2 separate regions of the Homo sapiens genome follow, and region 2 is linked to region 1. Evidence: promoter capture Hi-C in 16 types of primary human blood cells and fetal thymus (Javierre and others, 2016). All regions are on one chromosome and are shown on one strand. Each heading gives the region's core, a stretch centred on a gene start or on the middle of the fragment in contact. The rest is flanking DNA. Distances are from core to core; before and after follow the strand shown. Region 1 holds the start of GALNT17 (polypeptide N-acetylgalactosaminyltransferase 17). Region 2 overlaps GALNT17 (polypeptide N-acetylgalactosaminyltransferase 17).

Region 1 (7,046 bases), core at 2,742-5,241:
TTACCCAAAACAAGCACCGGCAGAGGATGAAGGTGCTTGAGGGGCCAGGTGGAGAGAGAGGAAGAGCCCCCTATATTTCACAATTTTTCCCTGCTCTTTTTCTGCAGGCTTCATGTCACTGCAAATGACACTAGGCAGTCAGGATGGTAACATCTGCCTAGTCGCAGCTTGCATTCTTAGCTTGCCCAGGAAAAGCTCTCAACTTGGCCTTGCTGCCAACTTGCAAGTCAGGAAAACTCAGCCTTCCCACCCCACAGCACCTGACTCCACCAGTCCGGGAACTGTTTACAGGGCAGAAGGCCACAGAGAAGGAAGCCAGACGCCAGTTGATCTGAAGCAAGCTCTCAGCTTAAGTCCCCAAAATGAGCTGGCTTTGGAGGTTGGATGGGTTTTCTACCTTTACTCTGCTTGATGTAGGCAGCAGACTGTTGGGCAGTGGGTCGAGGGCCCTGTCCCAAGTTTGTTAGAGAGGCAAATTCTCAGGCTTCACCTGAGACCTGGGCGGGAGGCCCAGAAATCTGTCTTAAAGGGCTCTTCAGTGATTCTGATGCACATGCTGAAGATCAAGACACTGGTGCAGGAGCTAAGAACCTCCATTCTGGAGCCTGACATTCCAGGTTCGATTCCCAGCTCTGACACTCACTAGCTGGGTGACTGTGAGCAAGTTGTTCAGGCGGGTGTCAGAGCACCCATCTCGCAAGTCATTGTAAAGATTCAGTGGGTTCATGTATGTCTGTGGCAAGTAGAAAGTAGCCTCCTAACCTCCCTTCACCTAGTTTTCTCATTTCTCAACTGGGGATGGGTGGAGCCTCTCTGGACAGATGTGAACATACAGTGAGATAATGCACTTGTAATGTCTCTGCACACATCTGGCACACAGCAAGAATTCCATCAGTTATTATTATAGAATTTTATTATTCCTATGAGGGAAGTTAGGGTACAGCTATATAATATTTAATGCTCCTAATTGAAACTAATACTGGGGCCAGGCATGGTGGCTCACGCCTGTCATCCCAACACTTTGGGAGGCCCAGGCAGGAGGATTGCTTGAAGCCAGGAATTCGAGACCAGCCTGGACAACCTAGCAAGACCCTGTGTCTACAAAAAATTAAAAAATTAGAAGGGCATGGTGATGCACACTTGTAGACCCAGCTACTTGGGAGGCTAAGGCCAGAGAATGACTTGAGCCCAGGAGTTTGAAGCTTCAGTGAGCTATGATTGCACCACTGCACTCCAGCCAGGGGGACAGAGCGAGAAGACCCTGTCTCAAAAAAAAAAAAAAAAAAAAAAAAAAAAAAACCATAAAACAAAGAAACTGATACTAAACTAACCTGTGTCCCTGAGAAAAGCCTGATGAGGGAAACCAGGTTAACCTTTGAAGTTCCTATGGGTATGTCTACAGCAGGAATCTATCCCAAATTATAAGGCCACCCCGTAAGTTTCTGATTCCTCCAGAAATGAACTATGGGTTTTTGTCGCATTCTGTGCCATATTTCTGACACCTGAGAGAAGAGCTTCTGCATAACTTCCGTGGGCTACCCTGACAGTCAGGCCATATACCCTGCAAGTTCAAGGCATCCCCTGGATATCTGTCAAATGGCTTCGAGAAGACCGCAGCGTCCTTTCACCTGCTCAGAGATCTGACCACCCCTCTCCCTCCATCCCATCCCTCCCCCAGTACCCAGCAGGGACCTTTGGTGAGCCTGAAAAGAACCATTTGCCATCCTCCTTCTCCCTGCCCCTTGCCACCACAGTGAAGACAGTTGAGATCCTCCAATGTGAGAAGGTATATGTCTGTATTTGCAATTCCACATATTTCTGTTTTCAACAAACCTAATACTCCTTTCACTTAGGGGAAAACCATGGATAGAAGTTTGAGCCTAAGAGGTCAAGCGCACAGGCTCTGTGGTCAACCAGACACAGGGTTCTGACTCCAGACTCTATTATTATTCCGATTACAGAGGTTTGGGGCGCAGTTATATCTTATTTAACACAGGGCAACTTAGTTAACCTCCCCTCGCTTAGTCTTCTCATTTCCCCTCTGTGGATGGGTGGAGCCTCGCTGGACAGATGTGAACATACAGTGAGATAATGTACTTGTAATGTCTTTGCACGCATCTGGCACAGAGCAAGAATTCCATCAGTTATTATTATCACGATCTTCGTGATTATCTGCAGTTCGTTTGAGAACATGAGTTACAAGCTCAGAAAGGGAGGAGGTAGTCTGTACCTAAGTACGTATCTGCCTTGGATAACCCCACGCATCCTGGAAACCTGCCTGTACTCAGGTAGGTAACACTCACTCTGACGTTGGGGACAGCTAGTGTCCAATGACCTGGCCCAGGTGTGACAAGAGCACATAAAAAGTCTCCCTCTTCTCCTGAAGTACTGAGCACAACATTTTAGATGGGACAGATTCAGACAACTGTCACTAATGGGATGCCACATCTCTCTGTGCTACATTCTGGAAACTTCGCAGGCCCACCCTGAGCTTTAACAATCGCCCCTCCGCAGCCCCCAAGGAGAAACACAGGCGGCAGGAAGGGAGGAGTCCTCATTCTTAGCTGAGCAGCTCGCCTCATAGACAGATGACATATTCCTCCCATATACTACCTAAGCGCATTAGCTCCGCGACCTGGGGCCTTGACTTTGTCTGCAGACATCCAAGCCCTCCAATCTCCCAGGTTCCCTACTGGTACCCCACCAAACGCTGGGCTCTAAGACTATTTCCTCCTACACGTCTGCCCGCGCGCCTCCAGTCCCATGTGGCCCCTCCACTAGTTTCTGCGCTCGGGCTGGAGTCGCCAGGGAATGATTTCCAGTCCGCACGCGGGGACCGGGAGCCAACTGTACTGACATGTTTCCAGGATAAAACCAAATTTGCAGGTGGGGCACAGAAAAGAATCAGGCAAGTTGTTCTTTCCAGCAGCCCCGGCCATCTGCCCGAAACGGGGCAGGAAGGGTAAGAAGGAGCGCGCGGGAGCCAGGGTGTGCCGGCTCCCAGGCACAGGGCGCAGCGCGCAAGGACCCTGGGGCTCACCCTGTGCCCGGCCCGCCCGCGTCGAGCCCCGGAGGCGCCGGCGTGCGTCCTTACCATTCAGCTGCCGGTACACGATGTCCTCCAGCAGCGACAGGCGCTTCAGGACCGCATCCTGGATGGGGCTGGCGCTGTGCGCGCTGAGGTTGGCCACCTCGGCGCGCGGCCGGATCTCGTGGAAGGCGTCTCCGCTGCGCACCGCGATGGGCCGGCACTTGGCCAGGAAGAGCACGAAGCCGGCTACCGCGATCAAGTTCAACACCAACAGCACTTTGACTCTTCTCAGTGAAGCCATCAAACAGCCCGGCCGGCCCTCGCCCCGGACCTGCGCCCCCTCGGGCTCCGGCGAGGCGCGGGGCAGCCAGGGGCCGTGCAAGCCTCACACACCAGACGGCCGGCAGGGATCCAAGCCCCTGCTCGTCCCACCTCAAGGATGCTCGGGCGGCGGAGACGGCTGGGAGGTCGGATTGGTGGTGGGGAGAACGGAATCGCTCACATGGAAGTCCTCGCTCTGCAGAAGTGCTCCCCGAGACGCCTGCTCAGTCCACGGCGCACGGCCCCGTCCAGGCGTCTCCGCGAAAGGCCAGGGATTTGAGGGTTTCTCTTCTGCACCAGCAAGTGGTTCGCCTCTGGACCTCTAGCCGCCGGCGCCGCGGACTCCGAGGCCGGCAGGCGGGGCTGCCCGGGAGGCACAGAGGGAGCGGCGCACAGGTGCCGGACTCAGGGATCGCCGCCCGCCCACGGCGGAGCGCGCCGCGCCTGGGGCCGCACAGCCTCCCACCTTGGCCCGCAGGCGGCCGTCGCGGCGCGCCACCCGCGCTCTTCAGCGGAAGACCCGCTCCCCCGGGCAGGCGCCTTTGTTCCGCTCACCGACCCGCTCCATCGCGCCGGGCAGAGGGGAAGCCCGCTCGGGGAGCCCGCATCCTCCAGGCTCCGCAGTCACGCTCAAGTCTCAATTACTCTCAAAGTGGGGGCAGCACTAGGGGGCGGGCGCCGGGCCGAGCGCTACGTCCTCTCCGCCCCCCGCGCGGAGTCCACCCCACCCCGCCGGCAAACTCACCAGCGCTCACAGCGCCGCCGGCTCCCGGACACGTTCCAAGCCCCCAAACCGCGCCGAGAGCCTTCGGGGCCTTCAGGGCACACCGGCCTGTCTCGGAGCTGGCGCGTCGCGAGGCTGGCCGGAAGGAGTCGGACCTCAAAAGTCACAGCAGTTCTCTACCCCCTCCCAAAACGTCGCGGGCAGCGCGGCGGGGAGGTACGCGTGCCGAATCACCCTCCGCTCGCCAGATCCGGCCGCGCGGCTCGTCCCGCGCCCCCGGGAGCCAAAACGCCGAGTCTCCCAATTGGCGGACGCGGTGACACCGCCGCTGCGGCACCGAGAGCCACACAGCCCCGGAGCTGAGGAGCCCGGAGGGGACGCGCAGGTGGCGGCGGAGGGCGGGGCGCGGCCCGAGGGGAGCGGCGGCGGCGCCAGCTCCTCCTCCGCCGCTCTTCGCCACCCTGTCCCCGAGAGGCTGTCGGCGGCCGCCGCCGCCGCCCGCAGGCTGCCGAGCGCACAGCTCCCCGGTTCGCCGACTCGTGCGCGCGCGCACCCGGGCAGGGCGGGGGCTTCTGGAGAGTGGGGACCGCGCGGGATGGAGGCAGTCAAGGCATGCTGGCTGCGGCCGGCGCTGGAGGGACCCTTTAGTTCTCAGTACTCCCTGAGCGGGCGGGTTCGTTCCATCCCGGTTGGCGATGAAGACATCCTTTTCTGTGTGCTCGCGGCTCCGCGCTGCGTGGCCAGGAATGGCTAGAGGGAAAATCTGGCCTGGAGGCTCGGATTCTGAGACCTTCGGAGCCAGGCCGGGCGTGAGCGGGCTTGGGGGGGTTCTCTGCGTGCAAGAATTCTAACCTCCCCAGTCACTGCTTCTAGGCCCACCCGCTGCTCTGTTCAAATTTTATTATAAGAAGCATATTCATTTGGCTCCTGGTTTTCCACTACCTCTTCCTCTTCCCAAAACCCAGGAACTCGAAATACTGGAATTCAACGCCCCCCCACCCCGGTTGATCCATTTAATTCCTTGGGTCTAAAATAGAAATCAGGCCGCCAACTAATAAAAATCGGGCAGCAAAGCTAAATGGAGCTGATCGTTTTCCCCTCATCATTTTGATCTCATTAAAGTTTTTGTTTTTGTTTTTGCGGTTGTTTTGGTTTTTTCTGGGGCTTGGTTTCTTGTTTTGTTTTTGCCTGTGTATTATTTTAAGTTTTGATTTTTAACATAGAAATGTATATGCAAAAAAATAGTCTTTTTATTTCATTCCCTTGGAATTCTCTGCCTGGGTGCAATCGGGTCCTCAGGGCGCATGCTTTGTAAAATCTACCTGAAAGTGGACACAAAACAGTTAAAAAGGCCCAAGGGATGATTTTTAGCCACACATGTTAGGCAAGAGAGAGGCTGTGTGGGAAGAAACTTGGGTTACTGAGCATCTCATGGAGTATCCAGTTGAGTTGGGTGTTATTATAACCACACTACAGATGGAGCTAGCACAATCAATGGAAGCTTCTGCAAAAATAATTTTTGAACATTCACTCAGCCGCAGGACTGAAGCCAGGGAGGCTGAGGCATTGGGCTAGGGTGCCCGAGAAGCAGTAAGTGGCTCTAAGTATGTGCTTGAGGCTGACTCTCAAGCGTGTGCATATTTGGGAGTGGAAGACAGGAAACAAAGTAGAGGAAACAGCCTCAGAGTAATCGAGAAGTTTCCAGGCAAATTTCAATTTCAGAGAGATTTCTGTGCTTTCTCTAAAGCCAGAGAGGTCCCTGATGCAAATTAACTTTTGGCTTTATCATGCATCCTCCAGGAGCCTCCTCTCAGCTCCTGCACGCATTCTGGGCAGCTTCTGTGTTCAAAAATGACACTGGACACTACTCAATGAGTGACCCACTGTCATGGCCTCATCCTGAACCCTGTATTCACAGAGGAGCCTTCCACTCCTGCAATCCTGCACTAAAATCCCAGCCTGTTATTACTGTTCCCTAGCTTTTTACCTCTCCCATTCTCAACTCCAAACAAACATATTCTCCAGCCAACAACTTCCTTCTCCTTCCCAGGTGTCCATGCCTCTCTATCCCCTCTGGAGTTCCTTCCCTCCTCTTTCTGGAGTTCATGGTTAGTCATTTATTTCAAACACATTCCTAATAGGGCCTGCTATTAAGGATCATGCACATGTATATCATATTTTTCCACTGCCCCAGCCTAGCAATCCCCAACTCTGAATCAATTTCACCTTCTTCTTTCTCAACCCAAGGACAAAGGCAAGAGCAAGTGTACCCAGGGAAAAACCACATCATCTCAAAGCCTGCAGGCATTTCCAATTGGTGGTGTCTAACCTTACCTGGGCCTTCGATTCTACTGAAAAGCTCTATTCCATGTCCCTAGCCAGCTCCTCTCCCTAGAGACACCCTAGCTAGACTTCAGGAGTTCATGAATAGCTCTCAATCAGATGAAAAAGTGTATCTGCATGTTACATAGACATTTTTCTGGGGAAAAGACCTGTAAGTTTCATCAGATTCTCAACATAGTCAATGACCCTAAAAGTTTAAGGACCTGCCTAGCATGTTATATATGCAAAAACATAATCAACTAAACGTTTATTATATACCAGCTGCTTCTGAAACCAACAAAACTACACTTCAGTGGCTGTGTGGTCTGCTCGCCATAAGGTCTGGGTTCCAGTCCCATTTCGGTCACCAAAGAATAAATCTGTTCTTGACTTTAAAAGAAGAAATTTATCTTGGATGGCACCCAAAACCATTCCCAGTCATAAAACTCAGTTTAACTACAAAAGCTTTATCAAAAGAGTTTCTTTGGTTGGTTGGTTGAGCAAACTGAAAGGAAAGAGACCAATGGTATTTCTGTGCAAGGATTTTTTATTTCAAATACATTTTTCACTCAACCATGGTTCAAATAACATATGCCTTTGACATGACTCTGTCCCCTTTGTTTGTCTGTTAAAAATGTATCGCATCTC
Region 2 (7,046 bases), core at 2,239-4,738, 500 kb before region 1:
CAGACAGGCCTCATGATATCTCTCCAGCATTAACATCAATACAGACTTTAAGTCTAGTAAGAAACATTTTACAACCTCTTTTCTCTAAAGCCTAGTACCTAAAAGCTTCCTCTGCAAATAAGAACTTCGGTCTCCATAATCGTTTATCTGAACCTGGGCATTCCTCTTTTTTTTTTTTTTTTTGAGACGGAGTCTCACTCTGTCACCCAGGCTGGAGTGCAGTAGCGAGATCTCGGCTCACTGCAACCTCTGCCTCCCGGGTTCAAGCAATTCTCCTGCCTCAGCCTCCTGAGTAGCTGGGATTACAGGCGCCTGCCACCATGCCCAGCTAATTTATGTACTTTTAGTAGAGACGGGGTTTCACTGTGTTGGCCAGGCTGGTCTTGAACTCCTGACCTCATGATCCACCCGCCTCAGCCTCCCAAAGTGCTGGGATTACAAGCGTGAGTCACCATGCCCGGCTGGCATTCCTTTTTATGGATCCCAGGTCTTCAGATAAACTCAGCCAATTGTCAATCAGCAAAATTTTTAATCGACCTATAAGCTGGAAACCCCCTGCTTCGAGTTGTCCAGCCTTTCTGGACCAAACCAATGTATTTCTTTTTTTCTTTTTCTTTTTTCTTTTTTTTTTTTTTTGAGATGGAGTCTCGCTCCGTCGCCCAGGCTGGAGTGCAGTAGTACCATCTCGGCTCACTGCAACCTCCGCCTCCCAGGTTCAAGCAATTCTCCTGGCTCAGCCTCCTGTGCAGCTGGGACTACAGGTACTGGCCACCACACATGGCTAATTTCTGTATTTTTAATAGAGACGGAGTTTTACCATGTTGGTCAGGCTGGTCTCGAGGTCCTGACCTCAGGTGATCTGCCCGCCTCAGCCTCCCGAAGTTCTGGGATTACAGGCGTGAGCCACCGTGCCTGGCTTATATTTCTTAAATGTATTTGATTGATGTCTCATGTCTCCCTAAAATGCATAAAACCAAGCTGCGCCCCAACCACCTTGGGCACAAGTTCCCAGGACTTCCTGAGGGCTGTGTCCCAGGCGATGGTCACTCACATTCGGCTCAGAATAAATCTCTTCAAATATTTTACAGAGTTTGACTCTTTTTGTCAACAAACGGACCCCCCAAAAGTGCAAATCTGACCATGGCACTCCCCATCTTCAGTGGCTCCACACGGCCCTTAGGAGGTCTAAATTCTACCAATTGCACATGGACAGAAAGATGGAAGTAATAGACACTGGAGACTCCAAAAAGGGGGAGGGAAGGAGGGGGCTGAGGGTTGCAAGATTACCTGTCGAATACAATGTACAATATTTGAGAGATGTCACTGCCCGAGGGGTTCTTCCTGCCCACTGCATAAAGAAAGACCACAGTATTGTAGTAGAGAGAGTTTAATAGACAGGAGGCCAGTCACACCATGTGTGTGGGCATGGGCTGGGCCCTTGGGCCCTCCACCCAAGCTCCCCAACCCCCTTTGTCTCTGCCTTGCCCGGGGCTGGCTCCCTTCTCAATGCTTGATGTCGCTGAGCACATGACTTCAAACTGAAAGCAAAAAAATGTGCTTTTTCCTTTGGACCCTACCTGCAAATGCCAATTACGCCTTGGATTTGCCAGCAGCTGGTAGGAATGAGTGAGAGGCTTGTCTCTGAGATGACTCATTTCCTCTCTGGTATTTGCAAGGAAGCAAGGAATGAGCAACCAGAAACAGAGCTTCAAGAACAAATTCCACCCTACAAATGCTGCGAGGATCCTCTCGGGGCCCTCAGAGGGCAATGAGGCATGTTATATGAAGATTAGCAGAGAGAACAGAAATCCCCTACATAAATAAATAAATAATGAGCCGGTAAATACTGACAGCCGCATTCATTTCCTCGGCCACATTTCCCTTTAACACTCCCTGCCTGGTAAAAGAAGTTTGCTTCTGAATAAGGACTTCGGGAGAATCCTCCCCAAGCCATCAGCCGACAGGAGAGCTATCCCGGCCCCCAGGACAAACTGCGTAGCCTCAGTCTGCCCCTTTGCAGGGGGTCAGGTTAGGCAGGCCATGATTTGAAGCCCCATCCTATGATTTTATGATGCAAACTCCCCACATTGCACTAGAGTGTTCCATATTGGGAAACCTTCCCAACCCACAGCCGGGCTGTGCCTGGGACATGGCGAGTGAGAATGGCAGGGACTATGTTTTCTTCACTGACACCTTCCCAGTGCCATTCTCTGTGAACCACATTTAAGCACCCCCTAGAACTAAATAATCAATAATCAACCTTCTTTTTTTTTTTTTTTTTTTTTTGAGACAGAGTCTCACTCTGTCGCCCAGGCTGGAGTGCAGTGGTGCGATGTCGGCTCACTGCAACCTCCCACTCCCGGGTTCAAGCGATTCTCATGCCTCAGCTTCCCAAGTAGCTGGGATTACAGGCGTGTGCCACCATGCCCAGCTAGTTTTTGTATTTTTAGTAGAGACAGGGTTTTGCTATGTTGGCCATGCTGATCTCGACCTCCTGGCCTCAAGTGATTCACCCACCTCAGCCTCCCAAATTGCTGGGATTACAGGCATGAACCACCATGCCTGGCCAAGATAAATAGTATTTTGATGCAATGTTTAATAAATCAAAAATCATGCAGAAAATCCACGGTGAGCAAAATGTCAGAAGTTGAAATAAAGACAGGTTCCCCGGGCTCACAATCCTCCCCCTGGTCTGGGCCCTGAGAGAAGGAGTTTCCACCAGCCCTTCTCACTTGCTACATTCTGGTTGTATTTTCCATCCATGTCTAGCGTGGTCCCAGATTCTCTCCTCATCCTTGTCCCCAACACACACAGACCCACAGATGCATTAGATGTATTCAGCTCGGCTGAAAGTGCTTGTGCTTTTGAGCTTGGTCGTAGATATCACTCTACTCACCCAAGTCAGAACAGGGCCCCTCATGGACACTCTCACCCCATCAGAGCACCTACTGCCTTCTCCTTTCTTTGAGGGCTAGGGCTGGATCTTGTGTAATATTCGAACCCCAACACCGGGCAATGGGAATCCCATCCATATCACAGGAATGAATGCATGCATGGACAACCTGAAATAGGGCAGGCAGATCCCAGTGCTCCCGGCACCCGGCAGGTGGTCCCCCAGGGCCTTGCTTCCAGGGACAAAAGCTCACAGTGGAAAAGCAGCCTGCTCCACAGTGGAAAAGCTTGGCCGGACACAAGGCTGTTCCTTATCTTGAGCCTTAATGGTCCTTGTAAGAGCATCTTTTCAGGTATCTGAAGAAAGGGCTCTCTCAGCCCCAGTCTTTTTTCTTTTTCTTTTTTTTTTTAGACTAAACATCTTCAGGTCCTTTAAAGCCTTCTTTAAAGGGCTGGATGCAGTGGCTCACACCTGTCATCCCAGCATTTTGGGTGAACAAGGCCAGAGAATTGCTTGAGGCCAGGAGTTTGAGACCAGCCTGGGCAACAGAGCAAGACCCCTGTCTCTACACACACAAAAAAAGAATAACTCAGCTGGGCGAGTTAACCCATTCAAATGCTAATCTCTTCTGAAAACACCAGCACAGACACGTGCAGAATTAATATTTAATCCGGGCACCCTGCGACCAGTGAAATTTACCTATGAAATTAACCATCCCAATATTGCACCTCAGCTCAAAACCCTCCCATGGCTCCCATTCTACTCAGAGTACACACCAAGATCTACATGACGGCAAATGGTTCATCCTCCTCCTTCCTTCCCTTATCTCCTCTCACTCTCACCTTTGCTGATGCCACTCCGGCCACAGTGGCCTCCTTGCTCTTCCTCAACTGGACCAAGCTTGTTCTTGTTGAAGGGCTGTTGAATTTCCCATCCTTCCCACATGGAATATTCTTCCTCCAGAAGCCCACAAGACTTGTTCCCTTACTTCATTCAGATTTACTACTGAGTCTGGGCATGGTGGCTCACACCTAATCCCAGTGCTTTGGGAGGCCAATAAGGGATGATAGCTGAAGCCCAGGAATTCCAGACCAGCCTGGGCAACATAGTGAGACCTCTCTACAAAATATTAAAAATTAGCTGGGTGTGGTCATGCATGTCCATCAGTACCAGCTACTCAGGAGGTAGAAATGGGAGGATCGCTTGAGCCCAGGAGGTTGAGGCTACAGTGAGCTATGATCATACCACTGCACTCCAGCCTGGGCAACAGGGCAATTGTCTCAAGAAAAAAAAAAAAAGTAAAAATAAAAATAAAAGATTTACTACTTAAACACTTCCTTACACCACAATGTTCCCTGGCTACAGAATGCAAAACAATCTCCCCTCTCCCTTCCAATCTCTCTCTCCTTTCTCCAAATTATGTATTTATTTGCTCATTGTCCACTGCAACAGGCAGGAATTGTATCTGTTCTGTTCCTTCCTGCATTCCCAGGGCCAGAATAGGGCCTGGTACCCAGTAAGTGCTCATTGAACAACTGAATGAATAAACGAATTGAAGTACCTGTACCCTAATTTATCAGCATCAACACATACTATTCTTGGGTAGTATTCTAACGACGTGGCCTATCTCAAATTTGCTTATTTTCTTTAAATCTGAAATGGCACTTCTCCCTTGGGTCCTCAATATCAAGCTCCATGATTTCCGGATTGCACTGGAAGATCCAAACACTTTGTCCTGGCTGTTTTCAGCTCTTGCTGAATTCAGTCTCTGGCCTGCCTTTCAGTATGAGGTGCCCTGGTATTTTTAGAAGAGCACTTCTCATGTGTTTGTGAGGGCCAATTACACCAGCTGCCTCTCTGGGTATGTTTCCATTTGCTGGCTGATTTTTACATTCCATGCAAACATTGATGAGATTGTCCACTAAATGGGTATCAATCCTAACAAGCATCAATGAAATTCCGGTTCTGAGTGTCCTTGGCCACCATAGCTACCCGGTGAAACTCATTAGGGTCCATGAAAAGAGATAGAAATGCAGAGTCAGCCAGACAAAAAGAGGTCAAGGAAAGGAGGAGGGGATCAGTGCACTGGGGGCCTTATGGGTGTGTTAGGGCAATGCTGAGACCTTCATCCAGACTGGATGTTCTGAGTTTATCCTTGGCTTTTTTGGCACGGGAGTTTGCCAAGCGAAGGCTGTTCCTTATCTTGAGCCTTAATGGTCCTTGTAAGAGCATCTTTTCAGTTACCTGAAGAAAGGGCTGTTTAGGTGGTATTGTGAACCTGGTGACTTTGGCCTGGTGTAGTGGCTCACACCTATAATCCCAGCCCTTTGGGAGGCCAAGGTGGGAGGACTGCTTGAGTTCAGGAGTTGGCTTTAGTCTCAGCATTGCCCCTGGATGTCTGGATCCCAGGCTAATGATCTCTGGGTGGTGTCAGTCCTGTGTCTATCTGGCAGGCCTGATAGTACTGGAGTCAGCACAAAGTTACGATATAATAAACATGGACTAGAAGGAATGAGTACATGAGGAGGGTTTATCAGCTCAACTGTTTGGGAGGTATTGTGAACCTGGTGACTTTGGCCTGGTATAGTGGCTCACACTAATAATCCCAGCCCTTTGGGAGGCCAAGATGGGAGGACTGCTTGAGTTCAGGAGTTAGAGACCAGCCTGGGAAATACAGCAAGACTGCCTCTCTATAAAAAAGTTTAAAAATATAATTCAGGCATGGTGGCTTGTGCCTGCTGTCCCAGCTACTTGGGAAGCTGAGGCAGGGGGATTGCTTGAGGCCCGGAGTTCAAGACTAGCATGGGCAGCATAGCAAGACCTCCCAACTCCCAATTCTCCAAAAATAAATAAATAATTAGTTGGGACAAGTGCCCACAGTCCCCGCTACTCAAGAGGCTGAGGTGGGAAGATTGTTTGAGCCCAGGAATTTGAGGGTACAGTGAGCCATGATCACACTTGATTCTGGGTGACAAAGCGAGACCCTGTCTCAAAATACAACTGAAAATAAAAATAAAAACGAACCTAGAGATTTTAGATAAGCTTTAAGGGATCCCAAAACCAGCTCCCAAGATTGTTAGATGATGTTCTGAGTTTGTAATGTCTTCAGGACAGGGTGCATAGGTAGATGTCATCAGATTCTCAATGACCCCAAAGCATGAAGCTCCACTTGGTTATTAACAGAACACGGTGTGAATGCAGCCCGCAGGATTGTGGGCTGGCTCCTGGCTGGAGCAGCTTGATCTGTCCTCCTGCCTGGCCTCCCCTATTCCTCTGCCCCCTCACTCTCTGCTAGAACCCTAACTTGCCACTGGCCACTCCACAGGTGCCATGCACTTCCTGCTTGGTGCCTCTGCTAGGGTCCTCTCTCTGAAACAATCTTTCCTTCTTCTCCACCAGCCAACTCCTCTTGACCCTTCTAGACCCCTCTTCTAGGCCCTGCTTCTCTACCCTCAGTGCCCCCAGATAGGGGCGTGGCCCATGGACTACTCCCCATCCAAAAACAGTCTGAACAGTGGTTCAGATGCAAATGGTAAGCTTTTTTTTAAATTTTAATTTTTACTTTTTGAGACAGAGTCTCGCTGTCATCCAGGCTGAGGTGCAGTGGCACGATCTGGGCTCACTGCAACCTCTGCCTCCTGGGTTCAAGCGATTCTCGTGCCTCAGCCTCCTGAGTAGCTGGGATTACAGGCGTTTGCCACCACACCTGGCTAATTTTTTATATTATGAGTAGAGACGCGGTTTCACCATGTTGGCCAGGCTGGTCTCGAACTCCTGACCTCAAGTGATTCACGTGCCTCAGCCTCCCAAAGTGCTGGAATTACAGGCATAAGCCACCGCACCTGGCCAATTCTGAATAAGCTTTAAAAACATTGGCTGGGCATGGTGGCTCAGGCCTGTAATCCCAGCACTTTCGGAGGCCAAGGTGGGCGGATCACCTGAGGTCACGAGTTAGAGACCAGCATAGCCAACACGGTGAAACCCCGTCTCTACTAATAATACAAAAATTAGCTGGGCGTGGTGGTACACGCCTGTAATCCCAGTTACTCGGGAGGCTGGGGCAGGATAATTGCTTGAGCCCAGGAGGCAAAGGGTGCAGTGAGCCAAGATCATGTCACTGCACTCCAGTCTGGTCGACAAAAGTGAGACTCTG

The links. The method cuts DNA at HindIII sites, captures the fragments that hold promoters and counts their contacts. A CHiCAGO score of 5 or more calls a contact.
Region 2: a contact is called between a fragment that was not itself captured here and the fragment with the promoter of GALNT17 in region 1, in 1 of 17 cell types (fetal thymus). The highest score is 5.1, in fetal thymus.

What each region holds. Positions count from the first base shown.
Region 1 is chr7:71,129,089-71,136,134 of GRCh38, reverse strand. GALNT17 (polypeptide N-acetylgalactosaminyltransferase 17) reads right to left here and starts at 3,991. Exons shown (of 11, transcript NM_022479.3): 1 at 3,095-3,991. The coding sequence starts at 3,332. The HindIII fragment of the contact is 4,375 bases long and covers 1,205-5,579 here.
Region 2 is chr7:71,628,344-71,635,389 of GRCh38, reverse strand. The region is part of intron 6 of GALNT17 (polypeptide N-acetylgalactosaminyltransferase 17); the gene reads right to left. Among named protein-coding and RNA genes, the nearest start is that of MIR3914-1, 320 kb to the right of the region's middle. The HindIII fragment of the contact is 614 bases long and covers 3,182-3,795 here.